Linked DNA regions of Homo sapiens: region 1 is linked to region 2. Evidence: promoter capture Hi-C in human tissues and cell types (Jung and others, 2019). All regions are on one chromosome and are shown on one strand. The core of a region is centred on a gene start or on the middle of the fragment in contact, and the rest is flanking DNA. Distances in the headings are between cores, read along the strand shown.

Region 1 (6,432 bases), core at 3,032-5,531, 310 kb before region 2:
CATTGTGATAACATAAAGTGGATTCATCTTGTATCATTATAGGCAGAAGGTATTTGGCAAATTTTTATGTATTGTTTTATGTACTGTACAAGTAACTTATTCTTGAATAATGCAAATTTTGCTATAATGTACAAATTGCTATATGTGAATTAAAAAGTTTTCAGAATCTTGATTTGCTGTCATAATATTTAAAGGCTCTATTAAGACCATGGTGTCTCTACAAAATCCTTGCCCTGCCCAAATACTCGCTCTTCCCTTTGTCCTCCCCGTTGCAATCTGGGAATACTAACAAATGCTTATGAGTCCATCCATGTCAATAAGCAGCTTTGTACATCTTTGTATCTTTTCAGCCTTCATGCCCTCTGGATTTCTTTATTGCAATTTTTTTCTGAGTGTCTCCTGCCCCCTACTGGTAAAGTAGAAAAATGCCCGAATTGGGAACTTCCAGCTAATGACACTCATTTTGGTTCAGGAGATATTAAAAAGGAAGCTTACAGAATCGGTGTCAGCCCGAGGATGTGGAATTTCAGTGCTGCCCAACTCTGGCCAACCTTCCTCCTCCTGAAGCAGATCTCTAATCCACCAAAGAGAATAGCTCAGTCTTGTCTTTTTCTAGAGATACCTTGAACCAGAACTAAGGGTGAAGAAGAAAAATCATTTCACAGCTACCTTCCGGGATATTCAAAATGCACCCTTAGCACACCTGCTTTGATATTAAGTATCCTACAAAGAAGTAGCTTATACAGACACACACTAACTTGATCAGTTTTTAAAACTTTTTTTATTTTTTAAATTTTTTTTAAGTTTTTATTTTATATTATCTACAAAGTAAAAGTTTTTCCCTTAACTTAAAAGTTGAACCACTGTAGACAGTGATCACCTCATCAAACTTGATTTATAAATAATAATCCGTCAGTTTGACGGTAAGAATTTACTGAAACTTTGTCAAGTTTAGTAAAAGGGCGTTCCAAGTCTTGATTTTTTTTTTTTTTTTTTTTTAGCAGTAATAGCAGCAAGAATCACTCTTGTTACTTCTTTTGCTAGCTGATGTGTTCATGACTTTCAAGGGTTATTAAAAAATAAATAACTTCCAGTTTCGGCAAGCAGAGCTGGGGTACCTGCGGGACTCTGAAACAGCATATGGAATTATGGAATAGCCCCCAAGTTCCTAAATGCCTCTACTCGGTCCAAGTATCTTCCACTGCAAGTGAACTGTTAGCATTCCTATTGGATGTTACAAGAAATCAACATATATATTTTAAAAACAAAATAAATGAAATTCTAGTTTTCTGTGCTTCCAGTTGGTAGAAGCAGTAGAAGGGAGGAGGGAATTTGGCCTTTCGGTTCCTCCAGGGCAGCCTTACAACTGCTGTTGGTGGTGGGCTTGTACTGTAAAAAGAAAAGCGAACATTGAAACAGAAAACTGGCAACACCACACATCAGCCTAGTGTCTCTGCAGCACATGATTGTAAACTATCCTCGTGCTAGCTGAACAAAACTCAAAATTGAATTCGCTTTTCCCCCTCCCATCTGCACCAAAGTGGGGAGGGTTGGGTGGGTGGGTAGAAACAAACCAGTCAGACGTAAAACCACTTCAGATAAAACTCCCAGAAGACTTGTTCATGGGGTAGAAAAAAAGGCCTTAACAAACCCCCTCCCCAAATATTAGCCAAGCACCAGTATTGCTTTCAGAATAACAGGTCAGACTGTGAAGTATCGCCATGGCAGCCATCAAGTAGTAGAGCACAATCACAGGGCGCTCTCCCCTGTTCAGGGGCTGGGGCTAACGCTACACTCAAAGCCAGTCCATCCACAGCGCTTTCTCAGCAGTATCTTCTCCAGAGCTACAATCAAACTCTGCCATGGTAATAACCCCCCACATGTCAGACTTTTGGGACTCAGGAAGGAAAACACTGCCCTGTCCAGCCTGTCATAACAAGGAAGGCCAACTGAGTCCTAGGCATGCATCAGGCTGCTGTTGCTGCTGCTGCTGCTTCTCATCAAGCCAAATCCTGTATACCATCAGAACACACACAGACTCGGCTCCCGGAAGCCTCAGGCCCTGATGCTGAACTGATCGTCACAGTCCCTCCTGTGCACACTCCTGGACGGGTCTTGCTAGTTCTCAAATGCGGGGCTTGAAGCACTGGCCCTGCCTGCCATTCCACCTGTGCGAGCAGAATGCTTTGGGGTGCCCCGGCGGCCCCTGCACACACACGCCTCACCTGAAGGGTGCGTCATATAGGGGAAATGCGCTGTTGTCGAGACTGGAATGGGCTGTAGTGCACTTTGAGCGAGGGCGGCCTGGGGACCGCCGGGTGGCTGTGTCGTCATTAGCATCATTGGCGCATGGGCAGTTGGATGAGAAGGAACCATTCCTGACTGTACATGAGCCTGAAACAGAGAGCTCTTTTACGCATACAGGCAACATCTCCGGCTTCAACAACATGTCAACTGTGTTCCTTTCACTGGGCTGGGACTCTCAGGAAAGGGCAACGGTGGGCCTCAGGGCCCAGTTCTGTTCTCTGGGGACAATCTCTAGTAGATTATCTATTGACCTGAAGACGCGCTTCACCTTTGGGCAGATCCTGCAAGGGTCAGGGAGCAGGCAACAAGTGAGCCTGGGTAGAAGTCAGGGCTGTGCTGTCCTAACCCTTGACATTTCTGATCATTGTATTCTATGTATGGGGTAAGATCTTCACAAAGATTAGACACTGGATCCAAGGGCAGCTTTCTCAACTTAATATCATACAAGATTCAATGATGCTTCAGAATCAGGCTGCCATGTGGGGCCTGAGGTAGTTTTGCAGATAACATCCCTTTCAAATAGGAAAACAGATTACATTAATAAGCAGAGACTGTCACAGTCAAGTATGTGAATTACTTGGACCTCTGTTCATTTGCCTCTCTCCCTCTGCTTCTGGTCTGCTCACCAGGCAGTGAAAAGAGACTCTTAGGCCCCCGTGACTCTCTCAGAGATATGCTGATGGAGCAGGAGGAGGAGGAGGAGTTGGAGTTTTTAATGGCTCCAGTGAGATGGAAAGGAGTAACCTGAAGTCATCTGGGCCAGCCCAGCGTCTCTGTACCAAGTTCAACCTGGTCTCACTCACTGTCAAGTTGGAAAGGTGATTTTAGTCAGCCCAAACAGCTGGATTCCAGCTCTGCAGGGGGTTGGCAGGGCCAGGAAGAGCCCTTGTTTCCTTTTTCCCACACTGTGCACTGTTCTAGACTACGATAAGCCTTGGATGAAATGCCGTTTTTACTCTCACATATTCAAACGGGCACATGGCAAATTTGAGCTTCCCTGTGTTAACCTTTTTGCCCTTTCAGCACAAAAACAGAGTGAGGTTTTAGGGATCCCTGACTTACATGTAAGTTCACATGCCTACTTAGCCACCAGCCTCTGGTAGACACCTACAGGACCCCAGCTCTTATGAAGCTGACTCCACCAAACCACGCTGGCCCACACGGACCAAACCGGCTTCCCTCCCCACTATCAAAAAGCAAATCAACTGCAGTGCGCTACACCACAGAACCTAAACTTTGCAGGGTGAGGACGCCCAAACTTCCCAGAGCTGTGGAACTCTACTTACAAGGTAGCCTTCTGAGAGATAGATCCAACTGAGTCGCATCTCTAGCCCACACCTTGCCAGAGCCTCACTGGCGCACTATTTAACAGGAAATGGAATTCATTGTGGCAGGTCTCACTTAGACCCGCCTCAGAGAGTTCTGTTATGAAAGTAGCAGAGACATCTAATACAGCCAATTCACCCGTAACAGCCCCAGGGAGGGCCTCAAGGCCAGCGTTAGAGCCCAACTTCAGTGCAGCTCCTTCTCCTCATTAAGACAATCCCCTGGGCCCTGGAGTGCAGGGACCTTTGTCAGCAGCTGATGCAGACAGCAACCACTGAGATGGCAAGCACACCTTTCACCTGTAGCAGCTTACACTGGAGGTGAGCTCCAAAGTGCTTCCAGGGCTGCTCTTAAAGAAAAATGGGACCACCTGGGTGCTTCCAGCTTCTAGTTACACTGCACCAATGTCCAAGGCCAAGCCCTCTCAAGAGTACAACTTATGGTCAAAGCAGATATATGGATAACCAGGGAAAACAATTGGAGAGATGTGTCTGGAACTCATGTGAGTAACAATCAAGTTGACAGGCCCCGGTAGTCACTTCGGAGAGCTGAGACTCTGTGAAGGCCATCATCCCTGCCTGGCTTCCAAGGTAAGTGTGTAGGGGAATATATATGTACACATATATATAGTAGTGAGGCTATATAGACATAGCAAAGCAGACACAGAAAGGAAAGAAGGACTGGGTTGCATTCCAGAGTCAAAGATATTTTTAAGGTCTCAGTTGGAAAACTAAAGGACTGACCAATCAGCACCTTCACTGATCCCATGACAAAACCACACAAACATTCCCTTAGGGCCAGATCACGTGTATTTGAGAGGGAAAGGGAGACAGGCAAATGGCATGACACACAGGGTTTCCTAGCTGGGAGAGCCTCTAGCTGCTTACTGATAACCTTCACATTCTACTTGGCCTTCACAGAAAGTTGGCTAAAGCTGGTATTACCTGAGGTACGTGGGCCATGTGGGGTGGGTTGGTATACGCCGGCTGAACGTGAGAAGGATGGATCGTAAAGACAGTCTGTTGTGCTGCTGGGAAACTATTCTGTGGCGACTGCGTGTTGGAGGCAGGTGTCATGGAGGGTGGAGTTGGCGCAAGCCCCGCGTGGTAAATGGCTGACTGCTGCTGTGGACTGGCCAGATGGAGAGCCTGGGCGGCCTGGTGCTGATGGTGCTGCAAAGCGACAGGAAAGAATTGAGAGGAAAACTTCTTTAATGAAAAGCAGCCAAGGGATACCCACAAAGCTAAGCTTTGCACACTTGGGCCTATGATGAGGGTCACTGGAAAGTACAGGAGAATGTACAGGGTGGTAAGAGCAAGGCTGGAGGTGCCTCCCATCTGGACAACTCCTTTCTAGGGTACAGAAGCCTGATTCTCAGTCTGGCAGTTAGAAACTTCTGAGCATACATACTAAAGTCAAAAAAGACTACTGCCCCAGGGAACTGATAGATATCAAAGACATCTTTAACTGCCTCCATTAGCAAACATAATTCAAGAAGCTCATAGGAAAATAACCTCATCACATAAACCTTAGAAATTAAAAAGTCCCAAGCAAATAGGAATTTGCCTTATGAACTTTATGTTAAATTTGATTTTTCATTACTGCAAGTTTCCAGAGCTTATCCAATCACCTTATTATCAACATGTATCTTAAATGTGATTTTTTTTAATTTTTTATTTTTTTGAGACAGAGTCTCGCTGTTGTCCAAGCTGGAGTGCAGTGGCGCGATCTCTGCTCACTGCAAGCTCCGCCTCCCGGGTTCACGCCATTCTCCTTCCTCAGCCTCCCGAGAAGCTGGGACTACAGGCGCCCACCACCACGCCCGGCTAATTTTTTTGTATTTTTATTAGAGACGGAGTTTCACAGTGTTCGCCAGGATGGTCTCAATCTCCTGACCTCGTGATCCACCCGCCTCGGCCTCCCAAAGTGGTGGGATTACAGGCGTGAGCCACTGCGCCCAGCCTTTAAATGTGATTCTTAAAACCACCACCCCAGGGGCACAGCTGTATCCATCTTCACGAGGGTGGACATGCCATGTGTTCTGACGATGCGATACCTGGCACCTGAAGAAAGCACTCAGATACTAGGATAAAGAAGCCACTCCATGCAGACCTCTGAGTTGCCCTTACCTGAACAGGACTGGGTGCAGGATGACTTCCACCATGTTGGCTTTGCTGCTGTCCAGTGGGGGTAGCTGAAGGCTGAGGGTGTGGAGTATGTGGGTGCAGGGTAGCGTTAGGGTGCGCATACTGCTGAGCAAGGGAGCCCGTGGAAACTAAAGTGAAAGAAAAAGGAGCATGTACACAACCGATGTCTGACAACCTCCATCGCTCCTCTACACTTCATCAACTGAACTTTCTTGATGGTTACAATGCATAACTCACGCCACTACCAATTTCTATAGATGACTCCATTTAAACCATCCATTGTCTTGAAAAAATAAGTGTAGCTATTGCTTAACAGACTAGCATTTGGTTCATATAATACAGCTCTACATATGATATTAAAATCAAATTAGTTTGCATTTACTCTTAACGGTCACTAGGTTTTCCCAAAAAGGCAACTTGAAGGCATAGGCAGAAACTACTCAAACAAGTGCATTTTAGGTGCACACTCTTTAGCTCAAGGCCATCATCAGGCTAACCTCACCATGCTACTGCCCTGGAGCAATGTCCTGAGGGCACAGACTATATTGGGTGTGGTGGGGGATGGGGGTGCGGGCACTGTGTATGGTATGTGGCAAGGCCAGGGATCTATCATCAGGGCCGAAGGACCACAGTCTCTCTCAGCTAATCACAG
Region 2 (6,568 bases), core at 3,998-6,497:
TTGGATTATAGGCTGAGCCACTGCCCCCAGCCAGATGTCTTCCTGTTAAAATGGGGCTTTAAATTCCTCACCTAACATCATTGTTTGCAACAACAGCAACAAAGAGCTTCCATAGACAGAGTCAGTGTCCCAGAACGGGGACTAAACAACCAAACATCTAGAATCTCACCAGTCAGTGACCCTGAAGGAGACCTCAGTCACAACCTTTGTTGGAGAGCAAGTGGAACTAGGGTTTTTTAAAGCCTGAAAGCACATCAGTTGTGCCCTAACAATGAAAGGTTTCAGAGTAGTTGAAAGCTAGGAATTTGAATATCTTAGAGGAAGTTAAGTGGCTTGAGGTGCTTCCACCGAAGGTCTCAGCACCATGAGAATGCCTGTGCTTCTGCCGGCCCCATTCCTGCCAGTGAGCCCACAGACAAGGGGCGATGAAGAACCAGGAAACAGATGGAAAGAAACGTGGAAGAGAGGAAAGCCTCAGACTGTCAGGGTGAAATCTAGGTTGAGAGTTAAGTTTTAGTTCATTCTTTGGAGAGACTGAGCCACAAGGAGCCATAATTACAATAGCGTTTCAGCACATCCAGGTGATCTTGGTCTGCAGTATTTGGTTGAGGACTGTGTGAAAGCAGCTGAGGCCAAATGTGGTGGCTCACACCTGTAATCTCAGCATTTTGGGAGGCTGACTTGGGTGGATCACTTGAGGCCAGGAGTTTGAGACCAGCCTGGCTAATATGGTGAAACCCTGTCTCCACTAAAAATACAAACATTAACCAGGCATGGTAGTGCATGCCTGTAATCCCAGCTACTTGGGAAGCTTGAGGCAGGAGAATCGCTTGAACCCAGGAGGCAGAGGTTGCAGTGAACTGAGATGGTACCACTGCACTGCAGCTTGGGCAACAGAGAGAGACTCCGTCTCAAAAAAAAAAAAAAAAAAAAAAAAAGCAGCTAAGGAAGGCTACTATGGTCACAAAAGACTTCCCAGAAGATGGGACTTGGGCTGGATCTTGATAGGGAAGATTTCCATAAGGAGAGAGGGCAGGACATGGGTGGAACAGGTGCACCAACAGTAGGGCACCAGGGATGAGAGAGCTGCTGGTTAGGATTATGGTGAGCACCACAGACCACAGACAAACCAGAATAAACGAACCTGTGGACCAGCGTGTCCTGCACTGAGACACACACCACGCACACCAACAGGGACGAAGCACGTTGCCCACATTGTATCGATGTATGCGAATGTGGATAAGTCAGCTCATTTTCTCCTTCCCCTCCCCACAACCAAGTTTACTGCTGCTCCTGGCTCCCCCATCCTGGGGAATAGCACATGGTAAGAACCTCAGCACCCACTCCACTCCTCTCGCCCTCATCTCCACACAGCTACCTGTCAATTCCACCTTCACACTCTTTCTGCCAACTGAGCCCTCCTCATCTCTCTGCCTCTGGCCTGCCTCCCCACTACAACTGAGTTTCCATGCAGTTCTCAGAGGAATCCCTCGAAGGCACATGTGCAACCTCATCACTTCCAGGCTGAAAGATCTTGGTTAAGAGAAATATTAGTACAAGCTATTAAGACTTAGGAGGCTGCCGGGCATGGTGGCACATGCCTGTAGTCTCAGCATTTTGGGAGGCCAAGGTGGGCTGACTGCTTGAGCCCAGGAGTTCAAGACCAGCATGGGCAACATAAAGAGACCCTATCTCTACAAAAAAAAAAAAAAAAAATTAGCTGGTGCCTTAGTCCGTTTTCATGCTGCTGATAAAGACATACCTGAGACTGGGCAATTTACAAAAGAGGTTTAGGCCAGGTGCGGTGGCTCATGCCTGTAATCCCAGCACTTTGGGAGGCCAAGGCAGGTGGATCACCTGAGGTCAGGAGTTCGAGACTAGCCTGGCCAACATGTTGAAACCCCATCTCTACTAAAAAATACAAAAATTAGCCAGTCGTGGTGGCACGTCTGTAATCCTAGCTACTTGGAAGGCTGAGGAAGGAGAATCGCTTGAATCTGGGAGGCGGAGTTTGCAGTGAGCCAAGATAGCACCACTGCACTGCAGCCTGAGTGACAGAGCTAGACTGTGTCTCAAAAAAAAAAAAAAAGAAAAGAAGTTTAATGGACTTATAGTTCCACATAGCTGGGGAGGCCTCACAATCACGGCAGAAGGCAAGGAGGAGCAAGTCACGTCTTACATAAATGGCCGCAGGCAGAAAAAGAGCTTGTGCAGGGAAACTCCCGTTTTTAAAACCATCAGATCTCGTGAGACTCATTCACTATCAAAAGAACAGTGCAGTAAAGACCTGCCCCCATAATTCAGTCACCTCCCACCAGGTTCTTCCCATAACATGTGGGAATTGTGGGAGTTACAATTCTAGATGAGATTTGGGTAGGGACGCAGTGAAACCATATCAGTCAGGCATGGTGGCATGCACCTGTAATCACAACTACTCAGGAGGCTGAGGTGGGAGGATCAATTGAGCCTGGGAGGTCGAGGCTGCAGCGAGTTGTGATTGTGCTACTGCACTCCAGCCTGGGTGACAGCGAGACCCTGGTCTTGGGGAAAAAAAACAAGAAGACTTAGAAAGCTACAGTGATGAAAACAGTGTCATACTGGCACACGCATACAGAGATCAATGACACAGAATATACAGTAGTTCAGAAATAGCTACTTACAGTTACTTAGTAGTAAAAAGATGACTGGCAGGATGTATTTGTGCCATATATGATAGACAAAATGTTAATTGCCTGGATACATATAAAGCACCTACAAATCAATTTCAGAAAGACCAACAATCCAATAGAAAAGTGAGCCAGAGACATGAGCAGCTAGTTCATAGCAGAGGAAACATGCATGACTTCATCTAGGCAGAGATGCTCAAGCTCACTCGTAAAAGAGAAGCAAATTAATGTGGTAGTGAAATGCCACTTTTTCGTCTCTCAGATTAGCAAAGCTAAAAAAAAAATCCTGAAACTTCTACTGGTGAGGGTGTAAGGAAACTCAGACATGACAGGTAGTGGGGCATAAATTAAACTTCTTTGGAGGGTAATATATCTGTATTTAAATTGTAAATATTCTTTGTTCCATTTCTACTAATTTCTTTCTTTTCTTTTCTTTCTTTTTTTTTTCTTTTTTTTTTTCTTTTTTTTTTTTTTTTGAGACGTAGTCTCACTCTATCACCCAGGCTGGAGTTCAGTGGCACGATCTCAGCTCTTGGCTCACTGCAACCTCTGTCTCCCAGATTCAAGCAATCTCCTGCCTCACCTTCTGGAGTAGCTGGGATTACAGGCACTGCGACCATTCCTGGCTAATTGTGTGTGTGTGTGTGTGTGTGTGTGTGTGTGTGTGTGTGTGTGTGTGTGTGTGTTTAGTAGAGATGGGGTTTCACCATGTTGGCCAGGCTGGTCTCGAACTCCTCACCTCAAGTGATCTACCCGCCTCAGCTTCCCCCCCAGAGTGCTGAGATTACAGGCACGAGTCATGGTGCCAGCCTCATTTCTATTAATTTCTTAAGCAAATCAAGAGCATACATTGTGGCATTGTTTGTAGTGGCAAAAGATTGGAAACAACCTAAATGTCCATCATAGGAAATTCATGAAATAAAACTACCTCATGTATCCAGAGGAATACCATGAAACTGTTGAAGAGAATGGGGACATAGTCCTTGTGTGCTGTGACAAAACGATCTCCACACACAGTATTAAGGGAAAAAAAGTACCTGGCACGGTGGCTCATGCCTGTAATCCCAGAACTTTGGGAGGCCGAGGTGGGCGGATCACCTAAGGTCAGGAGTTCGAGACCAGCTTGACCAATATGATGAAACCCCATCTCTACTAAAAATACAAAAATTAACCAAGTGTGGTGGCATGCGCCTGTAATCCCAGCCACTTGGGAGGCTGAGACAGGAGAATCGCTAGAACCTGGGAGGTGGAAGTTGCAGTGAGCCCACATGGTGCCAGCCTGGGCAACAAGAGTGAAACCCCATCTAAAAAAAAAAAGCAAGGCGCCATTGGGAAGGGGAAGTGGGGCCTGCATGGCTGAATTCAGAGAAGGAAGGGAGTCTTGGTTATCAGATTATCTCTGCAGCTGATCTCCAAACCTATTTCCCTTCTTCCTGGCACAGGGGCCACTCATTTCCCAGACTCTTTTGCATGGAGGCATGGTTGTGTGATTGAAATCCAGCCAGGCGAGCAGGCTCAGCCCACAGAAACCTCCCATGGGCCACCCCCATGCCTTTTCTTCCTCTGGTTTGTGTGGAATGGTGCTGAGCCCCCAGGGCGACTTTGGTGGAATCTGGTGTTGAAATCAGAGTCCCACCGCCGGGCGCGGTGGCTCACGCCTGTAATCCCAGCACTTTGGGAGGCCGAGGCAGGCGGATCATGAGGTGAGGAGATCGAGACCATCCTGGCTAACACGGTGAAACCCCGTCTCTACTGAAAATACAAAAAATTAGCCGGGCGTGGTGGCAGGCGCCTGTGGTCCCAGCTACTCCGGAGGCGGAGGCAGGAGACTGGTGTGAACCCGGGAGGCAGAGCTTGCAGTGAGCCGAGATCGTGCCACTGCACTCCAGCCTAGGCGACACAGTGAGACTCCGTCTCAAAAAAAAAAAAAAAAAAAAGAATAAGCAAATCATGCAAATCATCCTGTTCTAAACTCTGAACCGCTGCTTCCAAGACCGTCCCTGCCCTTGCCCTGGCCGCCTCTCTCCTTGTTAACTGGGCTCCATTCATTCTTTCCATTTCTCTAACACGTGCCAGGTGGTCTCATCTCCTGGCCTTTGCCCTTGCTGTTCCCTGTCATCATTCAGGTCTCACTTGTCATTTCCTGACCATGGTACTTATAAAAGCAGTGCCGTCTGCCCCATCCATGTCACCTCGTTCATCTCCTTCACCTCCGAAATGATCTCGCTTTTGGGTTTACGGCCGGTCTCTTCACCTGGAGCATCAGCCGGGAAGGTCAGGGTCGCCCTGGCTCGGGCCTGTTCACATTGGGGTCAAAGGCACACATTGGGGGCTCAACCAAGGCGAGCTGCGTTCGCGGGGCCGGGTCTTTCCGCACAGGCGGAGGGCGGTGGCGGGCGCGGAGGCGTCGCGCGAGCCAGGGGGCAGCCACGGGCCGGGGGTACCTAGCGCCACCCGCTTCGCTTGCATCAGCTGCGCGCCCCATCCCGAGGAATGGTAGAGGCAGCCCCGCCCCCGGCCCGCCCCCGCCTTTCCATTGGCTGCCGCGCGGGGCGGGGAGCGGGGTCGGCTCAGTGGCCCTGAGACCCTAGCTCTGCTCTCGGTCCGCTCGCTGTCCGCTAGCCCGCTGCGATGTTGCGCGCTGCCGCCCGCTTCGGGCCCCGCCTGGGCCGCCGCCTCTTGTCAGCCGCCGCCACCCAGGCCGTGCCTGCCCCCAACCAGCAGCCCGAGGTCTTCTGCAACCAGGTGAGCCCACCGGCCGGGCTCGCGCTTTGTTTTCCGGCCCGAGTCCCCCGCAGGCCCCTAGGAAGGCCCCGCGCCGCCGTGGGCCTTAGTGTACTCATCTGGGGCTCGAGGGGTTTGCAGAGGCTGACCTGGAAGCACATCTGCCCCCTCCTCTCCTGCAAGCATTTTAGCCCCTTCGCCGCCTCTGACAGTCCCCGTCCCATTTCCCCGTGACTTGGGCCCCCTCTCCGTCTTCGCCCAGCCTCGGTCTGTTTTCCAGGGCCAACTCTCGGGGTTCCGTTCTCCCCATGGTCCTTGCTTTCGGGTCTCCGCAGGGTCCCCACCCTCACCCACTCAGAAGACGCGACCAAGTCCCTCTTTGCAGGAACTTTCCTGTCTTTTCCTTAGTCATCCCCTTTACCCCCTGACTCATGCCCTCATCCAAGGAGTTCAAAAGGAAAAACCAGGAAAGAGGTGATTTGCAGCCACGTTCTCCAGTTCACCATGGGCGAGGCCACGCTCGGCTGCTTCCATTGCTGGGAGTAGGGAATCCTGGAGGACCTTCGGCCCCAGGGGGCCGACCCCAAGGGGTGTCTGCGGCTTCCAACGCCGGCTTCGACCAAACCAAGGAGGAGCTTTCCAGGATAAAACTGATTCCTGTGGTCCATTTATTGATTGCTCAATCAGTAATACTTTGGAATATTTTTTGTTTTGATCTTTGAGTTTGGTTAAAGTTCTAGACTTCACAGAGGCTGAAATTGGTTATGAAAGAGTTTGTTTTGTTTGTGCCAGTGCATGTTGGCTGCCTTCTCTGACTTAAGCTTTTTCTCCTATAAATGGAAAGGCGCTCTGAGGGTTAGGTTCACACAGGCCCTCATCAACCAGTCACTTCATAGTTAATCACAGCTCCTGTCCTGTCTGCACAGCCTTTGTGCAGCACTGTTCTAAGCGTCTACCTGTTTTGCAATTTAAGGTAATTTTTACAACAGCCTCAGTAGGAAGGGACTGTAATTCTCCATTTTACAGATGAAGAGACTGAGTCACAAAGAGGTTTAGTGACTCACCTAAAGACCAAAGTCAGTGGCATAGTTGGGGTTCACAGCTGAACTTCCAGGAGTAAGCCCCTAACCAGAACATTCCATGGTATGTTGTGACTCTGGGTGGGAACAAAGGGACCA

Evidence for each region. Contacts are between HindIII fragments. The study calls those that stand out against the background at their distance.
Region 1: a fragment that was not itself captured here is called in contact with the fragment with the promoter of ALDH2 in region 2 in 1 of the 25 tissues and cell types used here (dorsolateral prefrontal cortex).

What each region holds. Positions count from the first base shown.
Region 1 is chr12:111,451,452-111,457,883 of GRCh38, forward strand. It overlaps ATXN2 (ataxin 2), which reads right to left. Exons shown (of 25, transcript NM_001372574.1): 22 at 5,763-5,908; 23 at 4,578-4,805; 24 at 2,226-2,394; 25 at 763-1,389. The coding sequence ends at 1,361. SH2B3 (SH2B adaptor protein 3) reads left to right here. Exons shown (of 8, transcript NM_005475.3): 8 at 1-172. Among named protein-coding and RNA genes, the nearest start is that of SH2B3, 49 kb to the left of the region's middle. The HindIII fragment of the contact is 9,101 bases long and covers 1-6,432 here.
Region 2 is chr12:111,761,686-111,768,253 of GRCh38, forward strand. It overlaps ALDH2 (aldehyde dehydrogenase 2 family member), which reads left to right and starts at 5,248. Exons shown (of 13, transcript NM_000690.4): 1 at 5,248-5,411. The coding sequence starts at 5,298. RefSeq lists enhancers at 1-514, 4,707-5,476 and a silencer at 4,936-5,255. The HindIII fragment of the contact is 11,183 bases long and covers 1-6,568 here.